Linked DNA regions of Homo sapiens: region 2 is linked to region 1. The links are contacts of gene promoters, found by promoter capture Hi-C in blood cells and fetal thymus (Javierre and others, 2016). All regions are on one chromosome and are shown on one strand. Each heading gives the region's core, a stretch centred on a gene start or on the middle of the fragment in contact. The rest is flanking DNA. Distances are from core to core; before and after follow the strand shown. Region 1 holds the start of GREB1L-AS1 (GREB1L antisense RNA 1). Region 2 has its middle 180 kb from the start of ROCK1.

The links. Contacts are between HindIII fragments. The CHiCAGO score rates a contact against its expected background, and 5 or more counts as called.
Region 2: a contact is called between a fragment that was not itself captured here and the fragment with the promoter of GREB1L-AS1 in region 1, in 11 of 17 cell types (activated CD4 T cells, non-activated CD4 T cells, M2 macrophages and 8 more). The highest score is 9.4, in activated CD4 T cells.

The regions. Positions count from the first base shown.
Region 1 is chr18:21,449,700-21,452,296 of GRCh38, reverse strand. GREB1L-AS1 (GREB1L antisense RNA 1) reads left to right here and starts at 1,250. Exons shown (of 4, transcript NR_187982.1): 1 at 1,250-1,414. It overlaps GREB1L (GREB1 like retinoic acid receptor coactivator), which reads right to left. Exons shown (of 33, transcript NM_001142966.3): 12 at 2,461-2,597; 13 at 1,146-1,274; 14 at 80-214. LOC124900410 (small nucleolar RNA SNORD23) reads left to right here and starts at 1,541; the gene lies at 1,541-1,644. The HindIII fragment of the contact is 737 bases long and covers 1,052-1,788 here.
Region 2 is chr18:20,932,683-20,937,206 of GRCh38, reverse strand. No RefSeq gene overlaps it. Among named protein-coding and RNA genes, the nearest start is that of ROCK1, 180 kb to the left of the region's middle. RefSeq lists enhancers at 1,058-1,665, 1,666-2,271, 2,272-2,879, 2,880-3,485, 3,486-4,093 and 3 more. The HindIII fragment of the contact is 5,772 bases long and covers 1-4,524 here.

The sequences.
Region 1 (2,597 bases), core at 1-2,500:
AAAACCCTTAGAATGACTTAGTTTTTACAATGTCTGTCCCAAGGACTGACTTCCTCCTCTTGGTCTGAGATGACATTACCCAGGTTTTGTGTGGGAATCATAGCAGCAGCCTCCTGGGGTGACACACATTCATTAAGGTCTCCATCGAAAGGGGTAACCACACTGTCTCCTCTTCTTTGTTGCATTTTTTCCAGCAGCTTGTCTAGGTCATCGCCTATTACAAAATAGAGATAAGAAGGTTACAAGGAAGGATATGTTTGTTTCATTTTTATTAACTGCCCAAGTTGGGCAGTTAGGCTGTTCTCAGTAGATTTGTTGGTCAGCCAGCAATTCATATCAGCATTTACACTTGGCCATCTTTATAGTATACTGGTGTCTCTATATCAAGAACTACTCTCATTGATATAGTGCTTATAATTTACATGCTTTCACATGTTGTATCTCTCTTGACTTCCCTAATACTCAAAAGCAGACAGAATGGGATTAGAAAACTGAGTTCCAGGCTGGGCGCAGTGGTTCATGCCTGTAATCCCAGCACTTTGGAAGGCCAAGGCACAGGAGGATTGCTTGAGGCCAGGAGCTGGAGTCCAGTCTGGGCAACAAAGGGAGACCCAGTCTCTACAAAAAATTAAAAAATTAGCCAGGCATGGTGGCACATGTCTGTAGTCCAAGCTGCTTGGGAGGCTGAAGTGGGAGGATCGCTTGAGCCCGTGAAGAGGGGTGGTGTCAAGCAGTGAGCTATAATCACGCTACTGCACTCCAGCCTGGGCGATAGAGTGCAACACTGTAAAAAAAAAAAAAAAAAAAAAAAAAAAAAAGGAAGGAAGGAAAGAAGGAAGGGAGGGAAGGAGGAAGGAAGGAACGAACGAACAAACCGAGTTCCAGGGAGAGAGAAACTCGCCCAAGGTCACTCAACAAGGTTGTGGCTGAGCTGAGACTTTTGAATCCAGTACCAATGGGCCTTCCTCTAGACCCCCTTACTGCTTCCTGTGGTGTTAGTGACAAAATACTTAGGATAAACCATTTCAAATGAAAGATCAGCTGGCAAGCTTGAGCTCCACACTCATCTTGACAGGCTAAGATTTAAACTCAGAAAATCATACAACTAGGGGCTGCCAGTGTTGCCAAATCTTACAACCACTCACCTAATGATGTGGTTTTGAAATGTGATGCCAGGAAACTGACCTTTCCTGTGATAAGCTCATAACTAATTTCTTTCAAAAACTCACTTGTGGTGAGCATGCTCTCTGCCAGAGCTCGGGACTGGTGCTGACCTGCAGGATGGAGGAGAGAAGAGAAGACTCATCAACAGAACAAATGTTGCTGGAACATTACTTATAATGGCAACAATTGGAAACAATCAAAGGATGTCACTATAGGGACTTGGGTTAAGAAAATTATGACACATCAAAAGGTATGGACAATTATATAGCATTTGAAATATCAATTCTGACTCTAGACAGAAACAGAAATGTTTATAATACAGATGATCAGGGGAACAAAATGATGTACCTTATGTAACTGAAAATATGCACGTTTGTGTTTAATGACTAAGGAAGGTCCCTGTCCCCGCCAGGGGCTGTGAGCAACACCATGGCTGCCCCAGGGCTGGCCAATTGGGCAGATGCCCAGGGGCTGAGAACATGGGGGAAAAACAGACTAGGGAAGAGTATGAAAAACCTTATAAAAATTGTGCTTGCATGGTTATAATGAATTTGCTTTAAAAATATAAACATGTTTTTTACAAATAAAAATGAAAAAATATTAATGTATCACACTGATGAAGCTTTCTGGAAATACATGTAGCACAGAAAAATGGGCAGACAGGTTTTGTCAAAGTGAGGGGGTTTTCTTAGCTTCTTTGCTGGAAGAGGTGAGAGCCATTCAGTACAGAGAAGAGAGAAGCAAAATGTAGTCCAAATGGCTACCCAAGAGGGTGCCTGATAGAAAATCTGCACAGTGCAAAACAAACAAACAAAAATCCCCTCCCACCCCCCAATTTTGTAGTGTACCAACTTTCTGAATCTTTTCTTTAGAGACTATGTTACAATATTAAATAGACTGTTCAGTGAGAAGGGGAATATATGAGCTAATTTTCTGGCAAATTCGATTAACTGGCTTAGGCCACCTGTGGCACTGGCTTTATCACATGCTAGAGTAGTAACATTTCCAAAATCTTTAAAGGACAGCAGTTACATGAGACAGGGGTATCTGTTACTAGGGAGAGCTTTGAAATAATGCTCCCACAACCAGCTGACAGGGGCACCAGCCAAACTGAGGGCTACACAAAACCTGATCTGAGAAGGAAAGGGAAAGTTAAAATTAGGAGGATGAGCCCAAGCTCCAGCAATTAATCAGAGGTTGATTATGTGGATGCCTGAAACACATAACACACATTTTTAAATGGAAAAATGGTCGAATGAATTGATTAAACAAACAAAAAACAAAAAAATTACTCACCTAACACTACCACACAAAATTCATTTCCTCTGATTTTCGATGCACAAATTACCACCACATAATCTGGCAGCCTTTGATAGTGTCTCATTTCACTGAGAGTCCTTAAGGTCTCTGAAATGCCCTCCGCCAAAGAGTTC
Region 2 (4,524 bases), core at 1,396-3,895, 520 kb after region 1:
GTCCACTTCCAGATACTACAAAAAGAGTGTTTCAAACCTGCTCTAAGAAAGGGAACGTTCAACTCTGAGACTTGAATGCAGATATCACAAAGTCGTTTCCGAGAGTGCTTCTGTCTAGATTTTATATGAAGATATTCCTGTTTCCAACGATATCTTTAAAGCAATCAAAATATCAAATTGCAGATTCTACAAAAATAGTGTATCAAAGCTGCTCTGTAAAAAGAAAGGTTCCACTCTCTTAGCTGAGTACATACATCACAAACATGTTTCTGAGAATCCTTCTGTCTAGTTTTTATGGGAAGATATTTCCATTTTCACCATAGGCGTCAGAGCGCTCCAAATGTCCACTTCCCGATACTACAAGAAGAGTGTTTCAAACTGGCTCTATGAAAGGGAATGTTCAACTCTACGAGTTGAATGAAAAGATCACAAAGAAGTTTCTGAGAATGCTTCTGTCTAGATTTCATATGAATATATTCCCATTTCCCAGGAAATCCTCTAAGCTATCCAAATATCCACTTGCAGATCCTACAAAAAGAGTGTTTCAAAACTGCTCTGTCAAAAGAAAGGTTCAACTCTGTTAGTTGAGGACACACATCACAAAGAAGTTTCTGAGAATGCTTCTGTGTAGGTTTTACATGAAGATATTGCCATTTCCAACGAAATCCTTAAAGCCATTCAAATATGCACTTGCAGATTCTACAAAAAGAGTGTTTCAAAACGGCTCTGTAAAAAGAAAGGTTCAACTCTGTTAGTTGAGTACACAAATCACAAACAAGTTTCTGAGAATGCTTCTGTCTCGTTTTTATGGGAAGATATTTCCTTTTTCACCAAAATCATTAAAGGGCTCCAAAGGTCCACTTCCAGATACTACAAAAAGAGTGTTTCAAACCTGCTCCATGAAAGGGAATGTTCAACTCTGTGACTTGAATGCCGATATCACAAAGTAGTTTCTGAGAGTGCTTCTGTCTAGATTTTTTATGAAGATATTCCCGTTTCCAACGAAATCGTTAGAGCTATCCAAATATCCACTTGCAGATTCTACAAAAAGAGTGTTTCCAAACTGCTGTATCAAAAGACAGGATGTACTCCGTTGGTTGAGGACACACATCACAAAGAAGTTTCTGAGAATGCCTCTGTCTAGATTTTATATGAAGATATTCCCGTTTCCAATGAAATCCTTAAAGCTCTCCAAATATCCACTTGCAGATTCTCCAAAAAGAGTCTTTCAAAAGTGCTCTGTAAATAGAAAGTTTCAACTCTGTTAGTTGAGGACAAACATCACAATCCAGTTTGTGAGAATGCTTCTGTCTAGTTTTTATGGGAAGATATTTCCTTTTGCACCGTAAGCGTCAAAGCGCTCCAAGTGTCCACATCCAGATACTACGGAAAGAGGGTTTCAAACCTGCTCTATGAAAGGGAATGATCAACTCTGTGACGTGAATGCAGACATCATAAAGCAGTTTCTGAGAATGTTTCTGTCTAGGTTTTCTATGTTGATACTCCCGTTTCCAACGAAATAGTGAGAGCTATCCAACTATCCACTTACATATTCTACAAAAAGAGTGTTTCCAAACTGCTGTATCATAAGAAAGGATGAACTCTGTTAGTTGAGGACACACATCACAAAGAAATTTCTGAGAATGCTTCTGTCTAGTTTTTATGGGAAGATATTTCCGTTTTCAACATAGGCCTGAAATCGCTCGAAATGTCCATGTCCACATACTACAGAAATAGTGTTTCAAACCTGCTCTATGAAAGGGAATGATCAACTCTGTGACGTGAATGCAGACATCATAAAGCAGTTTCTGAGAATTTTTCTGTCTAGGTTTTCTATGTTGATACTCCCGTTTCCAATGAAATAATGAGAGCTATCCAACTATCCACTTACATATTCTACAAAAAGAGTGTTTCAAAACTGCTGTATCATAAGAAAGGATGAACTCTGTTAGTTGAGGACACACATCACAAAGAAATTTCTGAGAATGCTTCTGTCTAGTATTTATGGGAAGATATTTCCGTTTTCAACATAGGCCTGAAATCGCTCGAAATGTCCATGTCCAGATACTACAGAAATAGTGTTTCAAACCTGCTCTATGTAAGGGAATATTCAACTCTGTGACTTAAAAGCAAACATCACAAAGAAGGTTCTGAGAATGCTGCTGTCTACTTTTTATATGTAATCCCGTTTCCAAGGAAATCCTCAGAGCTATCCTAATATCCACTTGCAGATTCCACAACAAGAGCTTCTCAAAACTGACCTATAAATAGAAAGGTTCAACTCTGTTAGTTGAGTACATATATCCCAAAGAAGTTTCTTAGAATGCTTCTGTCTAGTTTTTATGGGAAAACATTTCCTTTTTCACCAAAGGCGTCAAAGCGCTAAAAATGTCCACTTCCAGATACTACAAAGTGTCTCAAACCTGCTCTAAGAAAGGGAATGTTCAACTCTGTGACTTGAGTGCAGATATCACAAAGCAGTTTCTGAGAGTGCCTCTGTCTAGATTTTATATGAAGGTATTCCCATTTCCTATGAAATCGTTAGAGCTATCCAAATATCCACTTGCATATTCTACAAAAGGAGTGTTTCGAAACTGCTGTATCAAAAGAAAGGTTGAACTCTGTTAGTTAAGGACACACATCACAAAGAAGTTTCTGAGAATGCTTCTGTGTAGATTTTACATGAATATAGTCCCGTTTCCAAGGAAATCCTTAAAGCCATCCAATTATCCACTTGCAGATTTTACAAAAAGAGTGTTTCAAAACTGCTGTGTAAAAAGAAACGTTCAACTCTGTCAGTTGAGTACACACATCACAAACAAGTTTCTGAGAATGCTTCTGTCTAGTTTTTATGGGAAGATATTTCCTTTTTCTCCAAAGTCGGCAAAGCGCTCCAAAGATCCATTTCCAGATACAACAAAAAGAGTGTTTCAAACCAGCTCTATGAAAGGGAATGTTCAACTCTGTGACTTGAATGCAGATATCACAAAGTACCTCCTGAGAGTGCTTCTGTCTAGATTTTATATGAAGATATTCCCGTTTCCAAGGAAATCGTCAGAGCTATCCAAATATCCACTTGCAGATTCTGCAAAAAGAGTGTTTCCAAACTGCTGTATCCAAAGACAGGTTGTACTCTGTTAGGTGGGGACACATATCACAAAGAAGTTTCTGAGAATGACTTTTCCGTTTCCAATGAAATCTACTTAAAGGTATCCAAATATCCGCTTGCAGATTCTACAAAAAGAGTCTTTCAAAACTGCCCTGTAAATAGAAAGGTTCAACTCTGTTAGTGGAGGACATACATCACAAAGCAGTTTGTGAGAAGGCTTCTGTCTAGTTTTTAAGGGAAGATATTTCCTATGTCACCGTACGCGTCAAAGCGCTCAAATGTCCACATCCAGATACTACAGAAACGGTGTTACAAACGTGCTCGATGAAAGAGAATGTTCAATTCTGTGACTTGAATGCAGACATCACAAAGCAGTTTCTGAGAGTGCCTCTGTCTAGATTGTATATGAAGATATTCCCGTTTCCAACGAAATCTTCAAAGTTATCGAAATATCCGCTTGCAGATACTACAAAAAGAGTGTTTCTAAACTGTTGTATCAAAAGAAACGTTCAACTCTGTTAGTTGAGGACACCCATCACAAATAAGTTTCTGAGAATGCTTCTGTCTACTTTTTATGGGAAGTTATTTCCTTTTTCAACATAGGCCTGACATCGCTCGAAATGTCCACTTAGAGATACTACAGAAAGAGTGTTTCAAAACTGCTCTATGGAAGGGAATGTTCAACTCTGTGACTTAAAAGCAAACATCACAAGGAGCTTCTGAGAATGCTGCTGTCTATATTTTATATGTAATCCCGATTCCAACGAAATCCTCAGAGCTATCCAAATATCCACTTGCAGATTCCACAAAAAGAGCATTTCAAACTGATCTATAAAGAGAAAGGTTCAACTCGGTTAGTTGAGTGCATATATCACAAAGAAGTTTCTTAGAATGCTTCTGTCTAGTTTTTATGGGAAGACATTTCCTTTTTCACCAAAGGCGTGAAAGCGCTCCAAATGTCCACTTCCAGATACTACAAAAAGTGTGTTTCAAACGTGCTCTAAGAAAGGGAATGTTCAACTCTGTGACCTGAATGCAGATATCACAAAGTAGCTCCTGAGAGTGCTTCTGTACAGATTTTATATGAAGACATTCCCGTTTCCAACGAAATCGTTAGAGCTATCCAAATATCCACTTGAAGATTCTACAAAAAGAGTGTTTCCAAACTGCTGTATCAAAAGAAAGGTTGAACTCTGTTAGTTGAGGACACACATCACAAAGAAGATTCTGAGAATGCTTCTGTGTAGATTTTACATGAATATAGTCCCGTTTCCAACGAAATCCTTAAAGTCATCCAATTATCCACTTGCAGATTCTACAAAAAGAGTGTTTCAAAACTGCTGTGTAAAAAGAAACGTTCAACTCTGTCAGATGAGTACACACAACACAAACAAGTTTCTGAGAATGCTTTGGTG